Regions from separate parts of the Homo sapiens genome. Here regions 1, 2, 3, 5, 6 and 7 are each linked to region 4. Evidence: promoter capture Hi-C in 16 types of primary human blood cells and fetal thymus (Javierre and others, 2016). All regions are on one chromosome and are shown on one strand. Each heading gives the region's core, a stretch centred on a gene start or on the middle of the fragment in contact. The rest is flanking DNA. Distances are from core to core; before and after follow the strand shown.

What was found. The method cuts DNA at HindIII sites, captures the fragments that hold promoters and counts their contacts. A CHiCAGO score of 5 or more calls a contact.
Region 1: a fragment that was not itself captured here is called in contact with the fragment with the promoter of HSPA13 in region 4 in 4 of 17 cell types (non-activated CD4 T cells, naive CD8 T cells, fetal thymus and 1 more); the score reaches 6.2 in non-activated CD4 T cells.
Region 2: a contact is called between a fragment that was not itself captured here and the fragment with the promoter of HSPA13 in region 4, in 1 of 17 cell types (M0 macrophages). The highest score is 5.5, in M0 macrophages.
Region 3: a fragment that was not itself captured here is called in contact with the fragment with the promoter of HSPA13 in region 4 in 1 of 17 cell types (total CD8 T cells); the score reaches 5.7 in total CD8 T cells.
Region 5: a fragment that was not itself captured here is called in contact with the fragment with the promoter of HSPA13 in region 4 in 1 of 17 cell types (M2 macrophages); the score reaches 5.3 in M2 macrophages.
Region 6: a contact is called between a fragment that was not itself captured here and the fragment with the promoter of HSPA13 in region 4, in 1 of 17 cell types (naive CD8 T cells). The highest score is 5.6, in naive CD8 T cells.
Region 7: a fragment that was not itself captured here is called in contact with the fragment with the promoter of HSPA13 in region 4 in 1 of 17 cell types (naive CD4 T cells); the score reaches 5.3 in naive CD4 T cells.

Annotation. Positions count from the first base shown.
Region 1 is chr21:15,752,063-15,755,908 of GRCh38, forward strand. The region is part of intron 1 of USP25 (ubiquitin specific peptidase 25); the gene reads left to right. Among named protein-coding and RNA genes, the nearest start is that of USP25, 24 kb to the left of the region's middle. RefSeq lists enhancers at 881-1,506, 1,008-1,302. The HindIII fragment of the contact is 1,086 bases long and covers 718-1,803 here.
Region 2 is chr21:15,805,328-15,809,367 of GRCh38, forward strand. USP25 (ubiquitin specific peptidase 25) reads left to right here. Exons shown (of 26, transcript NM_001283041.3): 8 at 3,482-3,558. Among named protein-coding and RNA genes, the nearest start is that of USP25, 77 kb to the left of the region's middle. The HindIII fragment of the contact is 2,050 bases long and covers 572-2,621 here.
Region 3 is chr21:15,783,757-15,787,693 of GRCh38, forward strand. All of the region lies in intron 4 of USP25 (ubiquitin specific peptidase 25), which reads left to right. Among named protein-coding and RNA genes, the nearest start is that of USP25, 56 kb to the left of the region's middle. The HindIII fragment of the contact is 1,016 bases long and covers 1,033-2,048 here.
Region 4 is chr21:14,380,699-14,384,508 of GRCh38, forward strand. It overlaps HSPA13 (heat shock protein family A (Hsp70) member 13), which reads right to left and starts at 2,448. Exons shown (of 5, transcript NM_006948.5): 1 at 2,397-2,448; 2 at 505-845. The coding sequence starts at 2,421. It overlaps LOC105369304 (a long non-coding RNA gene), which reads left to right and starts at 2,068. Exons shown (of 2, transcript XR_007067924.1): 1 at 2,068-3,810. RefSeq lists enhancers at 2,155-2,464, 2,855-2,984. The HindIII fragment of the contact is 7,322 bases long and covers 1,545-3,810 here.
Region 5 is chr21:15,863,194-15,867,089 of GRCh38, forward strand. USP25 (ubiquitin specific peptidase 25) reads left to right here. Exons shown (of 26, transcript NM_001283041.3): 21 at 1,075-1,253; 22 at 3,073-3,151. Among named protein-coding and RNA genes, the nearest start is that of USP25, 140 kb to the left of the region's middle. The HindIII fragment of the contact is 4,397 bases long and covers 1-3,896 here.
Region 6 is chr21:15,846,645-15,850,842 of GRCh38, forward strand. It overlaps USP25 (ubiquitin specific peptidase 25), which reads left to right. Exons shown (of 26, transcript NM_001283041.3): 19 at 1,019-1,132; 20 at 3,133-3,228. Among named protein-coding and RNA genes, the nearest start is that of USP25, 120 kb to the left of the region's middle. The HindIII fragment of the contact is 8,895 bases long and covers 1-4,198 here.
Region 7 is chr21:15,822,839-15,826,924 of GRCh38, forward strand. It overlaps USP25 (ubiquitin specific peptidase 25), which reads left to right. Exons shown (of 26, transcript NM_001283041.3): 11 at 1,201-1,328; 12 at 2,128-2,223; 13 at 3,366-3,527. Among named protein-coding and RNA genes, the nearest start is that of USP25, 95 kb to the left of the region's middle. The HindIII fragment of the contact is 6,839 bases long and covers 1-4,086 here.

The DNA of each region.
Region 1 (3,846 bases), core at 11-2,510, 1.4 Mb after region 4:
TACAGGGATTACAGGCATGCGCCACCACGCCTGGCTAATTTTGTATTTTTGGTAGAGATGGGGTTTCACCATGTTGGTCAGGATGGTCTCGAACTCCTGACCTCAGGTGATCTGCCTGCCTCGGCCTCGCAAAGTGTTGGGATTACAGGCGTGAGCCACTGCACCCTTTTTTTTTGAGATGGAGTCGCTGTTGCCCAGGCTGGAGTGCAGTGGCGTGATCTCGACTCACTGCAACCTCCACCTCCCGGGTTCAAGCAATTCTCCTGCCTCAGCCTCCTGAGTAGCTGGGACTACAGGCGCCTGCCACCATGCCTGGCTAATTTTTGTATTTTTAGTAGAGACTGGGTTTCACCATATTGGCCAGGCTGGTCTCGAACTCCTGACCTTGTGATCCACCCATCTTGGCCTCCCAAAGTGCTGGGATTACAGGCGTGAGCCACTGCACCTGGCCCAGATGGGGAATACTCTTAAGGGTCATAAACATGATGCAGATATGGTTGAAAGGTTGGGTGACAGGTAGGAAAAAGGACTCTGTGGCAAGGGAGGATGGAAACCATCATTTATCTAGGACTAACTATATCCATTGTTCTTTGCTAGCTATTTCTCATAAAGTATCTCATTTCTTTTTTCTGGATTGCATGAATGCTTAATGTTTTAGCTCTGGAATTCTATAAAAAGTAGGAAGAGACTTAAAATTTAGAATTCTTGGCATTTTTAAGCTTTAATGGAAAGGGTATACCTTCAGATTTATGTGCCCATAGAGGTATATGAGTAATTTATTTTAATGCTAAAGTGCTGTTAATCCAAAAAGATTGAGAAAAACTTCAATCTGTGACAGTAGGATATGCAGCATACCTGAACCATTTGTTACCCGCCAAAAACTTGAAAACCAGGATTAGTTGCCTGGTGAGTAATAAACAACTCTTCAAGAGAATGCAGGTTTTGGTCAGTAGGAGTTTTACTACTTGTCACAAATAAGGAGAATACTTGGAGTATTCTTTAGGGCATTGTTGCCTCTAGGGAAAGTGACAGGGAGGTTTTATGGGGTGATGGAGAGGGGAGAGGGTGTGACATCACATGTAGAGGAGGGGTCCCAGTGGTGCAAATGCAGTGAGTCACTATGTCAGCAGGTAGGTCACGTGTTATGGTAATGAAGCTGTAGTTCCCCCCCAGGGTGCTGACTTTAGCATGATAATGAGGAAAGTTCACTTGGGTTCATCTGCATGTTGCGAGGGTCTGTCAGGAGCTGGCTCCAACTGACTAGGTGAGAGCTCATTCCTCACAGGGTTTGGGAAAAAACAGGTGGCAAGGTAGGAGGTTGTAAACAGGCCAGTTACTTAAGTTGATTAAATTCCTATAGTCCCGGGGGACCCTCCTTGTCTGCTTACACATTCATGGGACTGTCATATAGATTATTTGCAATAGGGAATTTCAGTAATATTATATTTTATACAAACCTTCAAGTGAGATTGACAGGACCAGAACTGGGAAATTCTAGATGGAATGTAGGAGTGTAGAAAGTTTGCTTAGTAAGTGGGCCTGACTTATGTCATTTAGAAGAATTCTTCAATTTAGAAGAATTAGAAAATGTGCTTATTAGTTGGCCTGATATATGTATGCTTCTCGTTCCTGTATGAGAGGGAAAAAAAAAAAAAGGCTTCTCTTTACCTTTCTAAGTTCTTTGGCTGGACTAGAAATTAAATTGACAAGAGGCAGATTAACAGGAGAAAACCCATTTTAATTACATAGGTACTTACAGGAGTCCCACAAAATAAGAGACTTGAAGAAGGGTCACATGATTGAAGCTTATGTAGCATCCAGAGCTACAAAAAGTGATAGGGGTTTGGGGCTTCTGGGAGGGGTGGCAACACAAGTTATGAGAGGGTGGGGGAGGAAATGTATGGTGAATAAAGGGTGTCTTGTGTAGATAAAAAGTCACTCAAGTAATAAAAGTTGTTGCAACCCTCTTGCTGATACAGATACTTTTTCTAATGTAGATTTCCTTTAAAAATGGATTTTTTTTCACAAAAGGACAGTTTTTCAAGGTTACTCTTGTGTCCGCAGTTTCTCAAAATAACTACCTCAAAATATGCCAAAGAAGTATATTTTTGGGTGGCATATTCTAGTCGCCTGCAGTCTTATTTGGAGGTGGTGTGTCCTGAGCCCCAGCATTCCCATCTCCAATAATTAGTTAGTGCCTCTTTTCTGTGGGATAAGCTTGTCTTGTGATATGGCTTGTTCCAGCTCACATCTGCAGGCTCTGCTGTATTCATTTATTCAGTCAATGTTGATTGCTTGCCATGTGCCAGGCATTATATGTATGTACCAGGAGTACAGTGATGAACGAATTATGGTCTCATTGATAACTTTGAAATGATTAACATTTGGTGCCTAGCAGTGCTTTAGTGCACGTGCTTCTGAAGTTTAAGAGTTCTTGTCGTCTTTGGATTTACCTTGTGATTAACCATAGTGTATTATTATAATTTGTGGTGAGTCTCACAGAAGGCACCTACATGTGCAGAGACCTTTGCATTATGAAGGAGAATGGTGTTCTGTAGACCCTGAATGAAAGAGAGGGAAGAGGAATGCCAGGGGGAAAGCAAAGCAAGTTAGTGCTGGGGACAGAGGTAGGGACTCTAGCATGCAGAGGTCCTTTAAGCTGTGAGGACTATACTATAGGAAAATTCCTCAGACAAGTCATAGAATATTACAGTTGAGGGAAATGAAAGATCCGGCTTACACATTAACAAGAAAAACATGACTCAGGAGATTTTTTCTTCTTCTTTGCTTTCTGGCTATTTAGAGACTGGTTTGGACTTACAAACATGAAGGATGTGTTATGTACTTGAAATTCTTGGACAGTGAGTATTAGAGGTTTCTTATGGTAAGAGAACATGAGCTAGAGCAGTGTAGTGTTAGCAGGTAGATGCAGAGGTTTTTGCAAAATCAGGTGTGTGTGTGATTACTCACTTTAAAGACAGTATAATGAATTAATCTTGTCATTGACAGGTAACTTTGAAATGCCTACATTTGGTGCTTAGCAGTGCGTGTGATTCTGAAGTTTAAGAATGTCTTTGGAGTTTCTATCAGTTTTTTTTTTTTCCTCTGTTCTTAGAAAATTTGGAAGGTTTTTTTAGAGGTCATTCTAAGAGTTGCGCCCCCCGCCTTACACCTATCCCCAAGGATGGAAACCTTTGACTTTCTTTTCCTGAACCAAGTTTCATTTATATTTGGAAATTTAGCTGAAGGAGCCAAGGACTGACTTAATGAGTCACCCACCGCTTAACACAAACTGTTTTTCTCCTTTGTTGTCAGTGGTGCTTTAGTTTTCTTTTACCATTTTATAAGTATTTTACATCAACATAATAGTGGATTTTTGCACTGAGTTTTCATTTTTTATTGAATCTTTAATCTCCAATGTTAGATATCCTAGAGTTGAGAAAATATGGCAAGGACATGGAATTTGAACGACCAAGTTTCAACCCTGTCTCTGCACTTACTAATGTCTTGAAGTCTGTGTTAGCTATGAAATGAGAGTAACTTTCTAGAGGGTGTGTGGGTATGTCTGTATTAAATGAGAGTATATATTGGAAACATTGGAAACAGTCTGGTATAGGGAAGTTTAAACCTTCACTCTGAAAGTTCGATTAATTGAGTGCTGAAATAAACTGACAGTAAACAGATTAGCAAGAGAAAGTGCATACAAATTTATTGACATGGAAGCATGGGTGGGAGCTACAAAAAAAATATGAGGCTCTAAAAAGGGCCAGATGATTGAAGCCTGAATCCCCTCTTCATAAAGGGAGAAGTGGAGGATGCAGGCAATTTTAGAGGAAGAGTAAATGA
Region 2 (4,040 bases), core at 347-2,846, 1.4 Mb after region 4:
CAAGAATATGAGACTATTTGAGATGCATGATTCTGCTTTATTAAAAATAACCTGGAACCATTTAAAACATTTGGGAGACTTTTAAGAGAAAAGTGATCTTGAAGGTGTTAAAATAAAGTTTTAATTTATATTATGATTGAAATGAAAACGATGGATACAATTAAGATTATTTACAAATACATAATTAAACATGTTCACAAATGTGTGATAACAGAGGATCATTATAGTACACATGCTTTTGATATTCCTGTGTTTGCTGGCAGGGAGTACTTTTCCTTAATTACCCAGAAATGGTTTTTGAAAGATGTTATCTTTGTTATTGTTGCTTTTGTCTTTTATTCTTTATATAGTGTATTGTGGTAGATTTTTATCCATTACCTTAAAAGAATATTGGTAATTTTCTTATAAAAAATACAAAATATCTATAAACAAACCAGTATTTTCACATATAATTGGAAAAATCAGAGAAATTAAAGAAGGAAAACAGAGGAAAAAATACAGTGGCAAAGAATAGTAAGTGTTCAAAAAGATAGCGGCAATGTGTAATGGCAGAAGTTTCAAAAAGCCACTAAGCTTGCAGCGTTGTTTTTTAAAGTACATACTTGGATGTGTCTCTGTTTTGTGATGTATGGAGAGGGCGTTTGGAAGAGGAAGGTCTGAGATTCTCTCACCATCTTCCTTGTGCTTTTTGTTTCTGCTTTACATTTACCTTGTATGGCAAATGTGAATGAACAAAAAGGGCACTCACATCAGAGTTTCTTTTATATGTTGTTGCATTTTTAAAAAAAATTCTAACAATGCTCCAGTGCCTTTTAGGCTTAGTATCTACTCAGCTTTGTTTCTTACTCGCTCTGTCATGGTAACACTAACACAAATCAAAAGAAAGAGAAATAATTTTACAGTTGATTCCAAACCATCATTTTCGGGCATTCAGCATTCCTTCTGGTTCTAAATGTGTTTTACTTTTTTTTTTCTTCTTTAGTATGCATAGTATCTTTTCCAGTGATTCTGAGTATACAATTAAATTTTTTAAAAGATTACTTCTGTTCTCTGACTTATCTTTCCTTCTGGATGGCTTTTTCCTTGTCTTTTTTCTGGTTTCTTTTTTTTTTTTCTTTCTTTTCTAGAGATTCATGTTGATTTTGGGGTATCTTTTCACATTTAAAGATGAGGCAGCATAGACTTTGTCTGGAGCCATGTATGTACATAGGTGGGCTTTTCAGTTTGAGTTAGAGTTGAAATGGATACAACTGGCGGTTAAGGCCACAATATAAATGCTTTTGCTTCAGATTAGCAGTGTAGACTAACTTTTGAAATTAGTGATTCTTTTTCTTTAGAGGCCTTTTAAAGTAGATGTGCATCAATTAAGGTTGATAAGTTTGATTCTCTTCTGTTCCCTAAACACTTGAATTTGAAGTCTACAGGAGTAATTTAGTGAATCTGTAAATGTAAGCATCATGATTTTTTTAAAAGTGAATTTATATTTTCATTGTATCTTCTTCCTAAATATTTCAAATACATCATCTTTTGAAGTACACAGGAGTCTTTTGAGACACCCTTTGGTATGTGATACTGTTAGTTTTTTCTTTTTCTTTTCCGTGTTTGTTTTTTTTTGAGACACAGTTTTGTTTTGTCACCTAGGCTAGAGTACAGTGGTATGACAATGGCTCACTGCAGCATCAGCCTCCTGGGCTCAACCCTTCCCCAGACCTCAGTCTCCCAAGTAGCTGAGACCACAGGCACATGCCACCGCGCCTGGCAAATAATTTTATTTTATTTTTATAGAGACAGGATCTCCCTATGTTGCCAAGCCTGGTCTCGAACTCCTGGGCTCAAGCTATCCTCCTGGTTTGGCCTCCCAAAGTGCTAGGATTATAGACATGAGCCACCACACTTGGCCCCAATTGATACTGTCAATTTTAATCATACCTTTAATTGTTTTATTTTATAATTGTCAATTTTAGATTGATTTCTAAGAAAGATAGGGATTAACTTCTGAAAAATATTGTGTTAGCTAGGAAACCTTATTTTTTGTTGGATGTAATGTTTAAGTGAATTAAAGTTATACAAAAGTATGAAAAGTTGTTTTAAGGTGTTACAATAGTTCCTAAGGACAGTCGTAACAAATTACAACAAATGGAGTGGTTAAAAACAAAAGGTTATTCTCTAATAGTTCTAGAGGGCAGAGGTCCAGAGTAAAGGTGTTGGCAGGGCCACACTTCCTCCATTGGCTCTGAGGGAGAATCCTTTGCTTCCACCGTACTCTGGTGGCTGTTGGTGTTCCTTGCCTTGAGGCAGCATAGCTCCAATCTCTGTCTTCCTCTTCATGTGGCTTTCCCTCATGTGTCTGTCTGTCTTCTGGTTTTCTGTTTCTTACAAGAACACTCACCATTGGATTTAGCCCCAGCCCTAATCCAGGCTGATCTCATCTCAAGATCCTTACCTTAATTATATTGACAAAGACCATTATTCTAAATAGTGTCACATTTTGAGGATCTAGGTGGACATATATTTTTGCAGGCTACTATTCAACCCGCCACAGATGTTATGAATGTTTACAGCTGGATTTTTGCGTTGCGTTTAGTCCTATTTAACTCTACAGCTTTGGAGCAGTTTACTTAAGCTTCCCAGACTTTAGTTTCAACATTTTTTTGAGGTTAATATAAAGTTGGCCTACATGCTCTTTAAGAAACTGCTGGCTGAAAAAATATATGATAGTAAGTTTGTTTTGTATTTGGGGCTATTTTGGTAAGTAAGGACAAATTGCTTACTACTGATTCATCTGCCTGTAAGCAGCCTCAGTAGAGTTGATTTATTGTTTTTCCCTTATGTTCTATTTATTATTTTCTGTGTTCCAACTCACGTTATTGAAAGAATTATGGTAGTTGATAACACAACTGCCACAACCTATTCCTGTTTTTCCGTGTTGGGAGAGCAAAGACCAAAGGCATGGTGAAAGGTGATAAATGGGCTGGTTCTGAATGATAGTAAAGGTAGATATGGCTTAAAAAGTTGTGTGTGTAAGTTGAATTAAGAAAAGTGAATTGTGGAAAGAGACTAGTCTTCCTTCTAAGAGAGAAGCCAGTCATAATTCTTTATAAAACGAAGAACTGTTTGCTAAGATGATTTCTTCATTTTATAAAGATTCATTACAGAGCTCTTTGGGTGGGGAGTAATGATTATTTTTTAAAAATCTCATTTGTAAGTTTGGTTTTTGATTGTGTGTGTGTGTGTGTGTGTGTGTGTATTTTAAAGTGAAACCCAATAATTGATTATCATATAATGCTTGTTTTTTCAAATATCTTATATCCTGGTTAAATTATAAAAGTTTCTTGCATTTCGTGTGAAACATTTCACTTGTTATCTTTGTAAGGAGTTGGTAATTATATATTTCAACAACTGGCTCTAGGTTTGATGTTACAACATCTAGTATTTTTTTTTTAGTAGGCTCAAATATCAACAGGCTTTTTTCTTTTCACAGCAAGATGTGAGTGAGTTTACACACAAATTATTAGATTGGTTAGAAGATGCCTTCCAAATGAAAGCTGAAGAGGAGACGTAAGTTACCGTGAAGTTTAGCAATGGGGTTTTAGGAATTCATTAGATAGCATGTATTAAATGTCAACAGAGAAATAAGAAATCAAGACAGACTTATGGGAATCCCAGTATTTTCTGTATTATTGACAAGCTGTTTAGAATTTGCAGGCACAAATAATAGTGTAACCAAAAAAATCTAAAAAGTGATCCCTGGAAGAGCTAGTCTTACATGCCCAGTTCCTTTTCTTAGATTCAATAATCACTTTTCATGACGAGGAATGAATTTGCGGTGGAGAAAGATGTCAGGAATGTGAATTGTGACAAAATCCTTTTACGTAGAAGCATGAAGACAGGGATATGAAGTAGCAGTGCATGTGAGCAAGTGGCTCTGTTTTATCTGTTCACTCAGGGCCCCGAGGTCACCTAGGTTTCTGGGATCTTGCTGGCAGTGAAAATTATACTGTGTCTCTAAGTTTCTGCCCAGAGGTGACACACATCACTTC
Region 3 (3,937 bases), core at 291-2,790, 1.4 Mb after region 4:
ACCATCTTGGTTAACATGGTGAAACCCCGTCTGTACTAAAAAAAAAAAAAAAAAATACAAAAAATTAGCCAGGCATGGTGGTGGGTGCCGGTAGTCTCAGCTACTTGGGAGGCTGAGGCAGGAGAATGGCGTGAACCCAGGAGGCGGAGCTTGCAGTGAGCCGAGATCGCGCCACTGCACTCCAGCCTGGGCGACAGAGCGAGACTCCGTCTCAAAAAAAATAAAGAAAAGAAAAAGAAATAGAGACGTTTCCAGACAAGCAAAGGTGATGGAATTCATCACCACTGGACTGGTCCTACAAAAACACTTAGAGGAAATAATAGGAAATGAAAGAATGATTAATACCATGAAAATATGTGAAAATACAAAACTCATCAATATAGGTAAATCCATAATCATATTCAGAATACCCCAGTGCTGTAATGGTGCTGTGTAATTCCTTCCGTCCTCTAATATGAAGGTTTAAAGTTAAAAATGTCAGAAATATCAACAGCTACAATTAGTGGCTAAGGAACACATGAAAGATAAAGATGTGGCTGGGCGTGGTGGCTCACGCCTGTAATGCCAGCACTTTCGGAGGCTGAGGCTGGCGGATCATCTGAGGTCAGGAGTTTGAGACCAGCCTGATGAACGTGGAGAAACCCCGTCTCCACTAAAAATACAAAATTAGCTGAGCATGGTGGTGCATGCCTGTAATCCAAGCTACTCGGGTGGCTGAGACAGGAGAATTGCTTGAACCCGGGAGGTGGAGGTTGTGGTGAGCCGAGATCACGCCATTGGACTCCAGCTTGGGCAACAAGAGCGAAACTCTGTTTCAAAAAAAAAAAGATAAAGATGTAAATTACAGCAATCAAAACACTAATCATGGTGGGGTAGGGGAGTGAGGGGAAAAAGTCTAGATTATTTTTGTGTGACCAAAGTTAAGTTGTTATTAGCTTAAAATAGTCTGTTGTAACTGTAAGACTCTTCATGTTAGCTCCATGGTAACCACAAGAAAAATTATAGTAGATAGACAAACAAGAAAGGAAACAAAGCTTAGCATTATAGAAAACCACCAAACCACAGAAGTAAACAAGAGGGAAAGAATCAAACGAGGAATCTTCATAATATTGAGAAAACAAACTAGCATGAGTAAATTATTACTTATCAGTAGTAACCTTGAATGTAAGTGGATTAAATTCCCCAATTAAAAAATATAGAGCAGCTGGATGGATTGAAAAAAAAAAAGACCCAACTGTATGTTGCCTACAAGAGACACACCTCATCATTAAATATAAACATAGACTGAAAGTGAAGGAATGGACAAAGATATCCCATGCAAATTCAAACCAAAAATGAGCAGAAGCAGCCATACTTGTACTAGATACAATAGACTTTAAGTCAAAAACTGTAAAAAGAGACAAAGTCATTATGTAATAATAAAATAATCAATTCACCAAGAAGCAAAACTGTAAATATATAAGCACCGAACACCAGAACATCCAAATATATAAAGCAAATATTATTAGATTTAAAGGGGGAAATAGACTCCAGTACAACAATAGTAGGGACTTCAGCATCCCACTTTTAACAGTAGACAAATGATTTAGAAACATGAGACTTAAACTACACCATGGACATTTACAGAACATGAACAGCCGCAGAATACACATTCTTTTCAACTGTGCATGGAATATTCTCCAGTAAAGATCGTATGTTAGAGATGGTATCAAGTATTTTACCAGATCACAACTATATAAAGCTAGAAATCAACAACAAGAAAAACGTTAGAAACCAACAAATACATGGAAGTTAATATGCACCTTAATAACCAATGGGTCAGTGAAGAAATTAAAAGGGTAATTAGAAAGTTCCCTGGGACAAAGGAGCGTGGAAACACATACAAAAACCTGTGGGACACAGTGAAACCTGTTCTAGAAGTTCATGGCAATAAATGCCTGCATCAGAAATGAGGAAAGATTTCTAATAAACAGATTAACTGTGCAACTCAGAGAAACCTGAAAAGCAAGAACAAATTAAACCCAAAATTGGTAGGATGGAAATAATAAAGCTTAGAGCAGAAGTAAACAAATAGAGACTAAAAGAGCAATTCAAAAGATCAGTGAAATTTTTTTGAGAAGATAAACAGAATCAACAAACCTTTAGCTAGACTAAGAAAAAAGGAAAAAAAAAAAGACTCGAATAAATAAAACCAGACATGAAAAATGAAACATTACAAATGTATCACAGAATTGGAGGATCACAAGAGACTATTATGAACAACTGTATACCAACAAATTCTAGAATATAGGAAAAATGGATAAATTCTTGAACACACACAACCTACCAAGATTAAATTGAGAAGAAATGGAAAAAATAAGCAGACCACAACGAGTGGGAGAATTGAATAACTGCTAAAGCCTGACATAAAGATCCCTAGTTTCTGATGGCTACATTGCTGAAGTGTGTCAAACATTTAAGGAACAACTAATATTAATTCTCAAACTATTCCAGAAAATTAAAGAGGAGGGAATACTTCCAAACTCATTTTATGAGGCCAGCATTACCCTGATTCAAAAACTAGACAAGGACACAACAAAAAGAAACAGGCCAATATCCCTGATCAACCTAGATGCAGAAATTCTCAACAAGATTCTAGCACGTCCGATTCAACGGCATATTAAAAACATCATCCACTATGATCGAGATTCATCCCAGAGATGGAGGGATGGTTCAACATACACAAATCAATAAATGCGATACATCACAGTAACAAAGAGAACGGAAACCATATAATTTCAGTAGATACAGAAAAAAGCACATTACAAAGTTTAACATCCCTTCATGATAAAAACTCTCAAAATAGATATAGAAAGTATGTACCTCAACACGGTAAAGACCATAGTTGAGAAACCCACAGCTAGTAGTATACTGAATGCAGAAAAAAATGAAAGCTTTTCCACTAAGATCAAGAACCTAACAAAGATGCCCACTTCCACCAATCCTATTCAACATAGTACTGGAAGTCTTAGAGCAGTTAGGCAGGGGAAAGAAATAAAAGACATCAAAATTGGAAAGGAGAAAGTAAAATTGTCTCTGTTTCCAGATGATATGATCTTAAATATAGAAAGCCCTAAAGAGTTCACCAAAAAACTGCTACAACTCATAAGTGAATTCAGTAAAAGTGTAGGACACAAAATTAACACACAAAAATCAGCACTTCTATATGCTAACGGTGAGTTATTTGAAAAAATAAGAAAACAATTTCATTTACAAGAGCTACAAAAAATCTAGATACCTAAGAATAAACTTAACCAAAGAGATAAAAGATCTCTACACTGAAAGCTATAAAACATTGAGGAAAGAAATATAAGACACAAACAAATGGAAGTAGATCGTATGTTCATGGATTAGAAGAATTAATGTTAAAATGGCCATACTACCTGAAGTCATCTCCAGACTTACTGCAGTCCATGTAAAAATTCCAGTGACCCTTCAGAGAATTAGAAAAGACAATCCCAAAAATTCATGTGGAACCACAAGAGAGCCCAAATAGCCAAAGCAAGCCTGAACAAAAGGAACAAAAGGTAGAGGCATCACTACTTGACTTCCAAATGTACTGCTAGAATATAGTAACCAAAACAATGATATTGGTGTAAAAAACAGACACATAGACCAGTGGAACAAAATAGAGAGCCCAGAAATGGACACACCTACAGCCAACTGATTTTTGACAAAAACTGTTAACTGGAGTAAATCTAAGAAATGTACAAGAACTTCCAGGAAGAAAATGATTAAATATCATTAAGACACATTAAAGAATACATAAATATTTTGAAACATTCGCTGTTTCATGAATTGGAAGACCATTGTTAAACTGGTCGGTTCTTCTTAAATTGATTTATGGGTTTAGTTTGATCCCAATTAAAAATACCGTTAGTTTTGTTTTTGCTTTTTT
Region 4 (3,810 bases), core at 1,198-3,697:
GGAATCTCCAACATTAGTGAAAAACCACAAAAAAGTACACTGATAGAGACTAGTCTAATTAATAATGGAATAGTCATTCCACAAAATCATTAAAGATAATGACATGATCCTATTAATTATCCATGACATATTAAATAGCAAAAAATAGCACACCTGGTATGTTCTCTTTATATGTATATAAATATGTACACATACACACACAGAATATCTATCTATGGTACACAGGGCTTCATCAACCTTCCTGCTACCTTGAAAGAGCTAAGCAAGACATGCTGAGGATGGGACAGCAAGAAAATGGCAAGGCCTTAAGTACCTGTTAGCATTATGGAGTCAGTGATTAACTGATCCTATAGCTGCTGTGGAATTTCTGGTTATGTGAGATAACAGAACTTTCATGTATTAATAGATAAAACTAGACGAGATAGAATGTTTTGTGACATGAAGCCAAAGCATTAACTAAAAGAGTACACTAAAATTAATATAGATTTTAGATTAATCACTTACCTTAAATGGGTATCTGCCAATTTCAGCCTCCAACTCTTCTGCGGTAAAAATCTTGCCTATGAATCTTTTGGCATCATATATTGTGTTTTGAGGATTTGAATCTGCCAGCTCTACGCTTTCATATCCCACATATACATCATTGTCAGTAAAAGACACCATGCTGGGTATGCTGATATGCCCATTTTCATCTGGAATCACCTTTACTTTTCCTGTGCCAGGAAAAAACACCCCAACAGAACAATAGGTGGTGCCAAGATCAATACCAATCACTTTAGGAGTAGGCAATGGTAAATACTGTTGTGCCAAATAGCCGGCCAACAGGAGAGTCAAAACAGCCGATCCTGAAATAAAGGAAAATTAAAAGATGTATTTTATCAAACTAGTACAATGTACTAAATTACTGTAGCAAAGTCCCTTTAATATCACTCGTTGAAACAAGGCTAAAAAAGACAAATTTCAAAATTTTTTATAGGACTGCTGATAGCACTCCTCTCAGACAGCAAGTTTTTCAAAATGTAAACTGGTTATAATAAAATTTAAAATGAAGTAAACACAAACAACAAAAAACCCTATAACTGTATGTTTGTGTCATTCTCTAATAAATGTAATAAAATGTAAAAATATTTCAATAATATTTGTGCAGATGCTGACAAGAAACAACATTTATCTGGAGCAAAAGCCAGATATAATCTAATATTCTTGATCAATTGATATTTAGATTTTACAGCTTTATAAAAAGCTTCGATTATCTTTTTTTAAAAGCTCCATTATTAAAATTCTCACAAGAAAAACTTTATTATTTTATAAGTCTAAAATTCTCTCCTCGTATCTCACCTCCTTTTCCCTTTCAAAAGGATGAAATGAATAAATGGGATAAAATGATTTTGAAAGTTCCTTAGATATGAAACTGTCACTTCAAAACAGAACACAGTTAACTTTTTATGTATTTAAGTATGAACTAGGGACTTCCTTCTTGCAGTGGTAATATTTAGGGGAGAAGAAGCATAAAGGTGGGCAACCCTGACGGCAACATCTATGAAAGCTTCTTGAAGACAAGTTTCGTTCACTGTTGTATCCCCCAGACCAGGAATAGCAGATGCCCAACAAATACTAATTTAAAAAAAAAAGAAAAAAGAGTAGGAACAAATGCCACGCAGATTGTAAACATAAGCGAAGAAAGATGCCCCTTTAGTTTTTAATGAATCTCGTATTTGGTATCAGGAGGCTGTGTTATACACCTGTGTCCGCTCATATTACATATGACCCAAAACATGAATTTTCAGGGCTCTGTGTTACTAATTGTTAGCTCATCCTCATCAACACATAACTCAAAGAAATAAAACCAAGTGCGAATCCCACTTTCCACTTCCAGCTACAGGCAACATTTCAGAAGCATTTCATCACCTTGGAGACGCGGGGTGGGTGTGTGTGTGGGTGGGGGATAGGTAATTCCAAACCCGATGTGATGGAAAAAGCCTCCAAATTCAGCATCCCTGAGCCGACAGATCCGGATGTAGCTCCTCCCCCTTCCTCCACAAAGGGGTCCTGGAGGTGCACGTTCTCGCAGCCTTCCATAGCTTGCCCCAATTCAACAGGCAATTCAAAAACCTAGGTGCTGTTGAAAGGAACGCCTCCCTAAGCCTGATGTCCCTGGGATGGACACAGCTGGTCGCCGTCTATCCTACCTTGGCCTGCAGGGGCCGGGGCCCTCCTAGAGGCGTCCCCGCCCCCATCCACTCCGAACAGCCGAAAACCGTCTCTAAGTCACCTTTCTGACTCCCCTTCCGCTGCTCCAGCTAGATCCAGGAGGTGAGTCAACCACCCCTGCCCACTCTGGCATCCTCAGATCGCCTCTACGCCCGCAAGAGCAACAAGGACCCCCGGGAACCCACCTAAGATCGTCATCTCTCTGGCCATCACAGTCCCGCCGAACAGGCTTGTGATGACTGTACCAGACGTGAGGCACCGCCCCCACTCCTCCCGGCAGTCCCGCAGCCCCCTGGGAAATGTAGTCCGCTTGCTCTGAGGCAATCGGAGAAGCTATCGCTCTGACCAAAGCAAGGACTTCATCTACCGTGAGGGCGCGGGGCAAAGAGCCTCCATTCAACCGCTGCCAGTGACGACTGAGTCCCCCTTCCACGCAACGGCCGGCAGGACCAGTGAGACTGAGGGGGAGGAGCGCCGTGGCGAGAGACTGGCGTTTATAATCAAACCTGTGGTCCCGCGATCCTACTTGAGGGAAAACAGGCTATCTCTTTAGCCCCGCCCCGCGCTTTGCATTCTGGGAAGCGGAGTTCCAGCCTTTCTCTTTCCGCGGGAGGGAATGAAAGGGAGGGTGAGAACCGTTAGTTATTTCTTTCTTTGGTCGTGCCCCTAATCAGGTCCAGGATTCGAGTTTGTGTTCTTTCGTTTTAATTCCTTTTAAAGCGCGTTCGTTTGCCTGAGATCTAGCTTCTAGATGGCGTTCCTATAGCCTCCCGGAGCCCCAGCCATCCTCCGTAGAAGGGTCCCTGCCGCAGTGCGGGGCCTGAGGGAAGTCGGCTCTGGCGTCCGTGCTCCAACGCTGGGAGCAGCCCTGAAACTCCAGTGACCCTCAGCCGTCTGCCTTTGTTTTGGGATAAATGAATTCAAGCATTCTTCAGTCAATTCGATTTATCCAAGGGATCAGGGACACATTTTCTCTATTGCTAGCACTGACGTGGGCCATTAAAAACAAAAACAAAAACGAAATTAAAAAGAAAACCCTTAGCTCTCTCTTCAAGTAAGTCTTAAGTGGCCAAAATTGACCTTATGGGCAAGTCCTGTAACGTGACAGCCATTTTAGGACGCTTGTGACATGCTGTTCAGGTTCTAGTCTGAAGTAGGATTTTTCTCGCATCTTGGTCACTGGTAGCACTTAATGACTCCTCTGAGAGTGGTTTTGTCATTTTTGCTGTTAGAGTTCACGATAACTAAGATCCTGGAGAATTGAATCCATTTTCTCAGCTTAGATATAAATCAAACCATCCCTGTTGACAACACGTCAGCCTGCTGTGGGAATACATTGCTGGTTATTTCTGACTTATCAATGTGAATTTTGATTATGGAAGCTGAATTCTGGTTGATAGGGATCCATTGTAATGTTCTCTCTACTTTTGCGCATTTTTAAGTATTTCATAATGCGAAATATAAAAAGTGTGTGTCTATAGTGAGTGCTGTTCAATAAGATTCTTATAAGGAGTGAAGAATTCAAGCACTTAGTTCTTAAGTATTACTTGTAATGGGCAGTGGGCTGGAGGTGTTCCAGGCAGACGGAACTCAATTACC
Region 5 (3,896 bases), core at 868-3,367, 1.5 Mb after region 4:
AGATATTTTCTAGATTTTGCTTGTATATTAAAACATGCATTAGTATTTGTTATTTCCCATTATTATTTGTATATTATGAGGTATTTTTGTTTATAAAGAAAAACTAAGTTTAAACCTTAAGGTAATAATAGTGATAATATATTATCATTATTATTCTTACATTAATAAAATGTACGTACTGTTGGAGCAATAAATACTTCTTTTTGTGATAATTATAACCCCGGGGCTTGATGTTGCATTCCTTATTTGTGGGCTATTCAGCTAAAAGTTAATTGCAATAATACGACTATGCATTTAAGAACAATTTTCTTTCAGATTTGAGTATTGTTGGGAGCTATATATCAACTCTAGAATTTTAGTGTTCAAACTGATGCTTAGAAAGGTAAAACAGAACGGGAAAACTTACCATCTCCATCTTATGATGTCTGTGAATAGACTTTGACTAGGCTCTGATAAATTTTACAGAATTACTCACATTGTAAGTTTAGACATATTTTACCGCTTTCATGTGTGGAAGCAAAAAGAACGTTTATATAGTGAAGGGATAAAGAAGGGCCTTTGTGGCCAGGCACGTGGCTCACGCCTGTAATCCCAGCACTTTGGGAGGCCAAGGCGGGCGGATTATGAGGTCAGGAGTTTGAGACCAGCCTGGCCAACATAGTGAAACCCCATCTCTACTAAAAATACAAAAAATTTAGCTGGGCGTGGTGGTGGGCGCCTGTAATCCCAGCTACTTGGGAGGCTGAGGCAGGAGATTCACTTGAACCTGAGAGGTGGAGGTTGCAGTGAGCCGAGATCACGCCACTGCAATCCATCCTGGGGGAGAGTGGGAGACTTCTTTTTTTTTTTTTTTTTTTTTTAAAAGAAGGGCCTTTGTGGTCAGTTATTCAGAAAATTCCTTGAGTCTATGGAACATGGGACTGTGTTCTTAGTTGTACTGCCTTGTTTGTGATACTTTAAAAGCCAAAAAAAAAAAAAAGATTTAAATGCAAGAAGAATTAAACTCATAATATTGAAGGATTTTTTGGTGTTCAAATAATTAACCAAAATTATCATTTTCATTGCATTTTCCAGGCAATTAAGTTGGAATATGCAAGGTTGGTTAAGTTGGCCCAAGAAGACACCCCACCAGAAACCGATTATCGTTTACATCATGTAGTGGTCTACTTTATCCAGAACCAGGCACCAAAGAAAATTATTGAGAAAACATTACTAGAACAATTTGGAGATAGAAATTTGAGTTTTGATGAAAGGTAATTTGAAAGTATAAAATTCATATGCTCAAATCGTTCTTTTTTTTTTTCCTGCAGATTCCCAGGATAATTTTTTGAGTATTTATTTTATATATGCATGGGCACATATTTTAATAAATACGTAACAAAATTTGAACTCAATGTGACTAGTTGCTGGAGTCTGTGGCCTTTTGAAGTTTGAACTGAAAATAACTTAGATCATTTTAATAAATTTTAATTGTGAATCAAGTAATCACTGCACTTATTACACTCAATATTTTAGAAACAAAAATGGGCTTCTCAACCTCTGTACTATATAGACAGTTTAAATTAGATAAATCTTTGTTGTTGGGGCTGTCCTATGATTGTAGGATATTTAATAATATCCCTCATCTCTTCGTTAGATGACAGTAGCAGCTCCCAAGTTGTGGCATACCAAAATATCTCCAGGTATTGCCAAATAACTCCTAGGGGAGCAAAGTCACCCTTATTAGAGAATCACTGGAGAAAAGTTTTCAGTCTTGCAGATAAAATAATTAAACATTCTTTGACATAAAGAGGAGGCTTAGAAGGGTTAAATTAGATTCACGCAGACATATTTTCTCTGGAAAGAGAAAATATTCTATAGAAATTTCTGTAGAATTTCTGTAGAATATAGAAAATATTCTATAGAATATTTCCAGAGAATGTTTTCTCTAGATTATATTAGTAGTTTTATAAAGAATTATTCAGAAAGTCCTATTAAACTACTAATGTTAAAAATCACAATTTAATTAGAATGAGTGACACTAGAAAATAATTTCAGGGCCCATGTGAAATTTTAGAGTATTGAAAGTTATTTTCATATATAAAAACATTTATGCTGTTGCAGTTCATTGTAATTTTAATTCTGAAATGATCATCCTTTTATGAGTGTCTCAAAAATACTGAGTTAAAAGTGTATAGCAAAGAATATGAGGGGAGGCAAAGCATCTGGATTGATCCTACCTTATTAGATATGTGCCGTGAAATGTAGGATTCTGTGCATAATACAAATAAATAGTTGTGAACAATATCTGATAGGTGGTTGAATGCTCAGTGAATGTTGGCCACTACTGTTTATATTAGTAGCAGTGTGGACATCATTTATTTTGATACATGCGACTGCAGAGAGTTCAGAAACAGGGTTGTTGTGACCCTCGTTATCTGTGCTATCAGTGTACTGAGTTCCATTGGATCTATGCTGTTTAATTTGGAGAAGATATTAATGGAGTAATCACATTGACTTTTCAGTCTTTTGCAGTTCTCTGACTATAACTAGTTAATCTGTTTTGATAACCTGACTTGTGCTTGAAAGACAGAGTTATGCACATGTGAATAAATACATTTCGTGAGGATTTCTTTATCACTGATTCTGATCATAAAATCCAGTGGGATGTTTCCATTTTTACCTGAGATGATAGGCACGTTTTAGACTCTTTAGTATTTAAGAATAAATAATACCATGTGGGGGGAAAAGAAGATGCAGTGTCTCTTGAGCTTGCTTAATAGATGCACATTATTTTTTAAAAGTTTCATTTTTTTCCTATGCAAACTGTGTTAATTAGAATGTAATTTAAAAGCCATATATCAATACAACACAGTAAATTTGAATTAGAATTATTGCTCCTGTCTTCTTTGTAATTCCCCAACATTGGTCCCAAAAATGTTTTTCACTTAAGGTTATTTAGGAGTTGTTTCTATACAAAAGTACTGCTGTTTTTGCTCAGTGTTTATGGATTTTGCTTTTGATTTACAAATATATATATATATATATACACACACATACACACACGCTCATATGTATGTGTTTTTTTTTAAGGTGTCACAACATAATGAAAGTTGCTCAAGCCAAACTGGAAATGATAAAACCTGAAGAAGTAAACTTGGAGGAATATGAGGTAATGTGCTTTCTTAGAGGTTAAACTACAGATTTAGGGATTCTGTAATTCACTGATATTCCTTTCGTTTCAGCCCAACTGAAGTTGAATTTGTTATGAATGATGAGTAAAAAAATTAAGTTTCCAAGTCAATGCTCAAGTAATTAATAATTTTATATGTGATTTTAGGATTAACATGATATGATAGCATGTAGACCAAAAAGTTTAAAATCAAAAAAGGAAGATTTTTGGTTTTTTATTTCAATACTAATTCTCAAGTACTTTTTAAATGAACTTTTCTAGCTTAAAAACAGAATAACAAATGCATTGTTAATTTTGAAATCAACTTAGAAATTGCTGTTACATAATACCAACAAGTAATATTTATCAAGACCCTACTATATGCCAGGCATTTGTCTAAGCCCTTTACATATATTAACTGATTTAATTCAGACAGTAACACTGTAAGATAGGTAGTGTTCTTATTCCCATTTGACACACGAGAAAATAAGGCATAGAGCAGTGAAGTAACCTGCCTAAGGTTTTCACAGCCACAAGTTTACAGCTTGGCTAATAGAACCTACATTCTTAACTGTTGCACTACACTGTGCAACTGTACCCTGTGGGCTGTATTTTTTCCTTCACTTTGATTCATCAGATATATTTTGGGGAAGTTAATTCATTTTAGTCCCTATATGCCATATATGTTTGTCATGAGACAGTGTTGTGTGTGAGAGAGCACTTACATAGGTACTTGTACATGTGC
Region 6 (4,198 bases), core at 214-2,713, 1.5 Mb after region 4:
TTTTTTGTAATATCAAAACAAAAGTTTATCTTTGTGTATGAAAACTTATGCAATTCAGTTACTTAAGTTGTTTTCAAGCACCTTCAGTACTTTTGGCTTTTTTAATAGGTAAATAGTGGATATGCTAGTTATAAATATGTTGAATAAGATAAATAAGTATGTAAACATCTGTATGGTATTTTGAATGAATCATATTAGTGTCATGAAGTTTTGAATGAAATTTTCTGAATTTTACACTGACTTCTGTATTAGTGTAGATTACTGAAATACATAGAATTTGTTAACAATAAAAAGAAAAAAAGGAATAAATCTGATTGAGTTGTTAAAAATGGGTATCAGCTTCCAACAGCTTTTTCTTATTTTCAGCAGGTGTTTGTTGAACACTTAAGATATAAATATACTGGAGCCTCATAGGCTGTATATAATAAGTTAAACAAAATAGAATATGGATATTAACTGGATACACAATTGATTACCAAAAACAATAGAAGGATAAAATTATAAGGAAAAAAACCCTACAAATTCTGATGAGTTTAGAGGAGGTCATATCTTATTTTGGTTGAGATATCAAGAAAGGTTTTTGGGAGCTATTGGACTTTTTAAAAAATTGTCAGCTATACAGACAATAATAGAAAATACAACTCCACTATTTTTTATCTTAAGTACTTAAAGTTCTAAATACTTTCAGGGAAAAATGTAATGATATTGGTAATACCCAGTTTGAGGATGTAAAGGGAAAACTGCAGATTTTGTATTACTACTTGATGAATGCATTTGCTTCTGATGTTCAGTTTTAAGTGGTTTCATTTGATACCAAGTCAATGCAGGTATTTTTAAAAGATTTAAGAGTATGTGCTTAAACAGTTTAATAGTGCATGTGCGTTGGAACTTTTAAAAATAAGTCATATGGATACAGGGCTGCTGCTTAGGGATGTGCAGGTTATACAGTTGTGCAAGGATGCCATTGTTCTCCACTGTTCTCTTTTCTAATGTTTATATTAATGATTTCCTTCTGCAGAAACCTGAAAATACTACAAGCCAACCACTTTCTAATCAGCGAGTTGTAGAGGTGGCGATCCCTCATGTAGGGAAATTTATGATTGAATCAAAGGAGGGGGGGTATGATGACGAGGTACCTTTTACAGCCCTCTGCACCATTGCTACTTAACTTTTGCTATTTAATACAAATACTTTGGGCATGCCTGCACCCTCATACTTAATGTCTATTGCCACATAACATACAGCTTTGCCCCCTCATAGTCCAAAATTACTTTACCAATTATTAACAGAACTTTGAATTTCAAATGAAAATTTAAGTAGAAAACTTATGGAATTTGTCAAAAGAATTTTCTGTTTGTGGAGTTAATTCTTTTATGCAGAAATAGTACCAGTTTACTTCCAGGTTGGCAGATTACAATAAGATTTGTTTAATTAGTACAAAAATTTTTTGCATTTAAAAATAATTTTTTATATTCCATTCTTGTTTTACTGGAATTACTTATAATCCTTTTCCCACTATCTCCTGCCAGAAAATCCCACAGCATGATTGCAGGATGGATAATTGATATTTTTGCTTCTACAGCCTCTCCATGTGACTGTGAGTGGAGTAAGTCATCACCGTTACTGAGTGCCTACCGTTAATAGGACCTCCATGTTTATTCTTATCTCTTCACTGTTAATTCTCATTTACTTAGTTTTCCAACAGTATGGAGGCATTTTTGTTTTTCATGATTTAGTTCTTTGGAATCCAGATGAAAATGATCTATTGTCTTATTCTATCAGATGATTTTCTCCCCTTTTCCACTTTTCTCTTGAGACACTTAATATTACTCTTTTTGAGGAACGGCCAGTAAAGCTGTTTTTGAACAGGAACACAGAGGAGGCCGTAACTATTGGGTAGTGGGGGAGGGGGGTGATTTGGAAAAATGCTTGTTGGATTCTAGTTTTTGTGGGTTTGTATAAGAATTGCATTTATGTTAAGTTTTTTTTCACGTAACTTTTTTTCTGACTTACTCCAATGTTACTATCATGCTAGAGTTAATCACCAAAGTCAGAAGTGTCATAAAGACATATCACTGTACCAGTGTAAGAAATCACACGCCATAAAGAGAATAAGCAGATTTGTGAGATAAACTGGTCAGAGAGTTTTCTCAAGCAGGTGTTAGATATATTGCAATTCTCAGTATATAATCCAAAGTAAATACAATGAGTAATAGGTTCAGTGAATCAGAGGTGACGGAGGCAATCTCTTGATTTCTGTAAGATAGCTTCATAGGGCTTTGAGTAATTTCACTTTGCAGATATTTTAAAATGTAAACAGCTAAAAATAATAAGCTATTATGAAAACAAAAAAAATGCTTAAGTATTTGTACTTAATGGCTCTACATTGTTCTAGTTAACTATTTTATAAACATGCTGGCTCTTGAAAATTATGGGAACTGGCATGTTTTTAATAAACCTATCAATTTATTGATTAAGCAGTTAAGTACTTGTTTTAGGATGTGCCCTCTCTCATTTAAAAAAGTTGAATTGTGATTAATCATTTAACACTATCTTTTTTGCAAGTGCTTATGTGACAGAGTTGTGTGTTTTGTCGTTTTTTAAAATTTATTGCAGTGACAGTTTAACAGTGCATGTGCATTGGAACTTTTAAAAATGAGTTGTTATGGATACAGGGCTGCTGTTCAGGGATGTGCAGGTTGTACAGTTCTGCAAGGATGACTAGACAAGGGGCAGAAGTGGGAAGCAAATTGAGTTCATGATGAGCTCTCTGAGGCTTGAGGAAGAGGTACCTTTTTTAATTGGTAAAAAGGGATGTTGCTTTTTCTAAATAGTTCACTCAGAGGATAGCACATTTTTCTAATTTGTTTGTCTAGAAGCAGGGTGCCTTTTTCAAATTCTCCAATTCAGAGAGGATGCCTTTTTGCAGTTTGCACAAAGGCTCCGTATGAGCCAGCTGTGCCCTGTATGGATGATCTTAAAAGGTGCTTACATGCATATTGGATTAAATTTGGTATTAAAAGTGCAACATTTGATTTATAAATATGGAAAACAAAAGAGTTTCAGCTTGCATGTGAATAAATTATTTTAGTTTAAAAACCTTTTTTTAATGTTAACTATCTTCTGTGGCAGATCATGATGACACCGAACATGCAAGGTATTATCATGGCGATAGGTAAATCCAGGAGTGTATATGACAGGTGTGGCCCTGAAGCAGGGTTCTTTAAGGTACAATGAACATTTTCATTTTCGTGTCTTTTCTTTTTCAAAATTAAACTTCTTAAAATATTTTATTTCTTTGAATTCAGTTTGGTTTTCTGTATAATTTCTCTTTTCCTATCTTAGTTATGGCCACCGGATATCCTAGGGTTTTATTTTATGTATTAATTAACCTAATACTGATTGTTTTTCTCTTAATCCAGGTAATTCAAGAAAAAAATCTTTTTATTTGAGTCACTCTAATAGTGTGCTTTTGATTTGTCAGCAGAAATTTGAATTGTATTTTTTATTTGAAGGGAATGAGGACATTAATGAACAATAATAAGAACTGAGTAAATTGCCCTGGTAATAGTTTATTTTATCTTCATTGTTCATATTATTGGTCAATATCATAATATTCTTTAATTTTATTATCATTAGGTACTAAATTGCTTTTTCGTTTATAAAATGATTTATTTATTATATTATTTTTGTTATGTTTCCCCATAATTAATTTTTGATAACCTAGTCAGTTCAAGACATGTGAGAACATCAAGCTGAACACGATTCCATGATTTACCCACATCTTTTTCCCTCTAATATCAGAGCTTTACAATGTTTTGATTACAATTTTTTCCTTTTACAGATTTGAAAGATGAAAATACCATGTATGTTTTGTCATTTTATTTACATTAACTGAAAATCTTCAAGTTTTTTTTTTTTTCACTCTTTTCAAACCCTTCTTAGTGGTTTTAAAAAGCAGCTTTTTTGAGGTCCAGTTTGCTACAGTGAACTATGCATTTCTTTCTTTTTGACATTAAAAATCTAACATTTTTCATTTTCTGTATTTTGCCATTATCCAACTTGGTCTTTCAAAAACTGGTTCTTTTTTCACTGTTTCTTTCAGTATACAGTACAAAACAAAAGCCTTGTACATAGTAGTAGACCTATCAATAAGCATTTTTGAGTTTGCTAAGATTAGGGTGACTAACTCTCCTGA
Region 7 (4,086 bases), core at 875-3,374, 1.4 Mb after region 4:
TCAGGTATTATCCATATAAAACAAATTCCTTAAACTTTAGCTTTCAGTAAAAGATAACCATCCAGCTCAGGAAATCTCAGTTCAAGTAATTATAGCATTTTGAAAGAGAAATAGTATTGAATACCATTTGCTTTTATTTGCTGTAGAGAAAAGTAGCAACTTTCCAGATCCTCCTCAGATTCAGTTTGCCAGATGTGTGCCATTCATGCTTTTTTTGGATGTTCAAATTTAAATTTGGTATATTCTTAACTTATTGACAGATGTGTGGTGGCATTTTGTGACACTTGAAATTATCACACACAATAGATTATGCAGCAGTTTCGCATATTGCAGTTTATAATAAGCACTTCAGAACTATTTTATACTTCTGTTCTTTGTTGATTTACATACAATCTTTCTTTCTCTTTAAATACATATGCTTATGTATAATTTGAGGTTGTATATGAAAATAATTTTCTTTTAAAAATGTTGAATTTCATGCTTAATTGAACAGTTACCAAAGCATGTATGGGGATTAGGGGCTGGGGGTAGGGGAAGGAAATTACGGCTATACTCATTATCAGAATTTGGCTCATAGCAATGAGACATTCAATTCTTTAAACACTAGTTATTTTAAAAGATTTTAAGTAAATTACTCTAAGTATTAACTTTTTGTTAGTGATATGTCTTTTTCATAAATTAGTATGAAATCCAGCAGAGGAGCTAAAGCTAAAACAGGAAAACACCATTTTTTCATTTTTAGTATGAGAGTTGTGACGATTTATGATATAAATTTTTTTTTGAGTACTCCCTCTCATAAGTTATTTTATCACAGGATTTTGATGCTTTGGTTAAGTATAAGTGCCATTCAACATCACGTTGAAGAAGACAGAGAAGACTTGAGCTACTAAGTCATGGTTTTAACCAGTGTCTTTTTCTTTGGGCTAGAAATTCTAATGTAAAGAATTATTTTCGAAGGATAGTTGTGAGATTTCTTTTTTTCCTGATCATATATTATACCCACTCTTGGAATTTTCAAGAGGTGTGGAAAACTTTTAGAAAGAGGTTGAGTTTTAACTAAACTGTGTACCCAGTTACTTGTCAGGTCCGCATTGTGGTGATACATATAACAATGTCAGTGCCCACATCCTGTGCCTAAGATTGCAGTGAAGAAAACAAAGGTGGTATTAAAGTTTTTGTTATTGTTTTATTTCCTTTCAGCATTGGTTTACTGAATTACCACCTGTGTTAACATTTGAATTGTCAAGATTTGAATTTAATCAGGCATTGGGAAGACCAGAAAAAATTCACAACAAATTAGAATTTCCCCAAGTTTTATATTTGGACAGGTATGGTTTGATATACTGCATGACTTAGTTTGAAACAGTTTAGTAAGGGAGAAAATATTGTTTAGAGGAAAATTCTGCATAATTTTCTTAGAATTAATTTCTACTTTTGCATAATATACCTAATACCATTTGTCAAGGTAGATGAAATTTACTTTGTATTAGAAAAGTATAGTTTTTGGGAATAATGTTATAAGGAAATTTAAAAAAGATGAATTTTGTAATCTTAAAATTCAGAATTTTAAAAAATACCATTTTGTATTATCTACCTTACATCTTATACAATTTTGAATGAATTGATGCTTTGTGGTGATGTCTGTACTTAATATTGTATCTATCTATCTTTCTGTCTTTCTTTCTGTCTCTCTGTCTTCCTGTCTTTCTGTCTTCCTGTTTTCCTGTCTTTCTTTCTTTTGTTTTTTTCTGTCTGTCTTTCTGTCTATCTTTCTGTCTTTCCTTCTTTTTTGTTTTGAGACAGAGTCTTGCTCTGTCGCCCAGGCTGGAGTGCAGTGGTGCGATCTTGGCTCACTGCAAACACCATCTCCTGGGTTCAAATGATTCTCCTGTCTCAGCTTCCCGAGTAGCTGGGATTACAGACACCCACCATCGTGGCTGGCTAATTTTTGTATTTTAGTAGAGACGAGATTTCACCATGTTGGCCAGGCTGGTCTTGAACTCCTGACCTCAGGTGATCCTCCCGCCTTGGCGTCCCAGAGTGGTAGGCCGGGTACGCTGGCATCTGGCCATATTGCATCTACTTTCATGATATTCGGAAATGCTAATGATTACCTTTTTCTGATAGATACATGCACAGAAACAGAGAAATAACAAGAATTAAGAGGGAAGAGATCAAGAGACTGAAAGATTACCTCACGGTATTACAACAAAGGCTAGAAAGGTATTTTAACTTTTATGAAATTAGGAGATAATTATCAGAAACCATGTATTTGGTGACTAGATTTTTAATTTCAAATTTGCTTTGAGTGATTTATAATTTTAGGAGTAGTTAATATTGTGTGAATAGTTTTGAGTTTTGCTTGAAACTAAAAATCTATAGTAGACTTTAAAAAATTATTCTAGTGTTTAAAATTAAATATCTCATTGTCAACAGGTAATGTTCCTACTGCTGAAAATAGATACAAAGTTAAATGAATATAGTTTTGACCTTCCTTTTTGCATGAAACTAAAGATTACTCTTGAGATTTTCATTAAAATGAATGGTATCTGAGTTTTTCTCCTTAAAACAGGATACAAACTCAGCTGCCTACCAAGTCTTCTCAGCAGCTTCGTAAAGGAGGAAATTGTGTCAGGTGTAAGATGGTATGTGCCGGGAGCCTAGAGAGCAATCTGTGTGTACAGGGAATGAATGCCATTCCATACCAGTGGATGGTACCATGTATGAGTATGGCCTCACTGTTGTCTATTGATTTGGATCATTTCTAAAAGACGTCAGAATCTGGACTGAGAAATGTTCTACAGGCCAGACAGAAATCTAAAGGCTGAAATGTCACAAGTCATTTCAGTTTGCAAACCCCAATCTGCTCTGCATTCCCCTATTTTAGGAATTTTCAAATTAGTAGTCTAAAACTTCTTACATCAAATAGTATATTGTATTTTAATGATTTTTATTCTTAAAAAGTATGAATAATCATATTGAAACATGATTAGTGGTAAAAGATAGGAGGATAGTACACATCACTGTCTTGATCATGAGACCAGATGCCAGATCTAAAAATAAAAACAGTCTCAGGAGATGTCAGTTTTCATCTTCCTATTGAGTTACAATTTAGAACAGCATTTACAGATTATAACAGTATATACTCACATTCAGTCCCAATCGGCCTTGGTTTCCTGTCTTTGGGGAACTTTTAATGTTTTTCTTAAGTGTATATTCAGTTTTACCATCTTCGTTTTAAAGCAAATGAATTTTATTGCTGAGGAAGTTTTATTGAAGTATCGTATCACGTTTTATAATAATAATAAAGGCCCAAATATGCTGTATATAGAAATAAAAGCATTTGTACATTTTATGATTAACAGATATTTAAGCTATGGTTCCGGTCCCAAACGATTCCCCTTGGTAGATGTTCTTCAGTATGCATTGGAATTTGCCTCAAGTAAACCTGTTTGCACTTCTCCTGTTGACGATATTGACGCTAGTTCCCCACCTAGTGGTTCCATACCATCACAGACATTACCAAGGTAAAAAGTAATCCTGATGCAAGAGACAGTTGTTACCTTTATTACACAATAATGTAACTGCTGCCTTTAAAGACAGTTTCTATAAAATGTATGCTTTGATTTACTTCAGTGAACTCCTAAGAGTAGATTCACTTAGAAGACTGTATGTCCTCTGGGAGTTTTTTTATTATTTCAGTAGATTTTATGGTTATGGATTAAAATTTTAATCACATTTTTTTTCAGTTCAGAATTATACTTTAGCATGTTTTGGTATGTACATATATAAGATTCAGCATTTTATGATCCATAAAAATAGTACTATCAAATTAGAATTTGTTTCTGTAATGTAAGCTGATAAGCCAGGGAAAATAATATCACCATGCGTAAGATTTTCTTGTTTTTTAGAAATAAATATGATTAAGCTGTTTTAACTCTAAAGCTACAACTTCATCTTATAATAATTTAGTTCTTATGTATTAAAAATCTCATTTGGATGTTAGATCAATCCACATATTTCTTTAAGATTTTTTCTTTTGAATTACAAGCCAATTTAATACTGTGGGTTTGGCACGATCTTTGT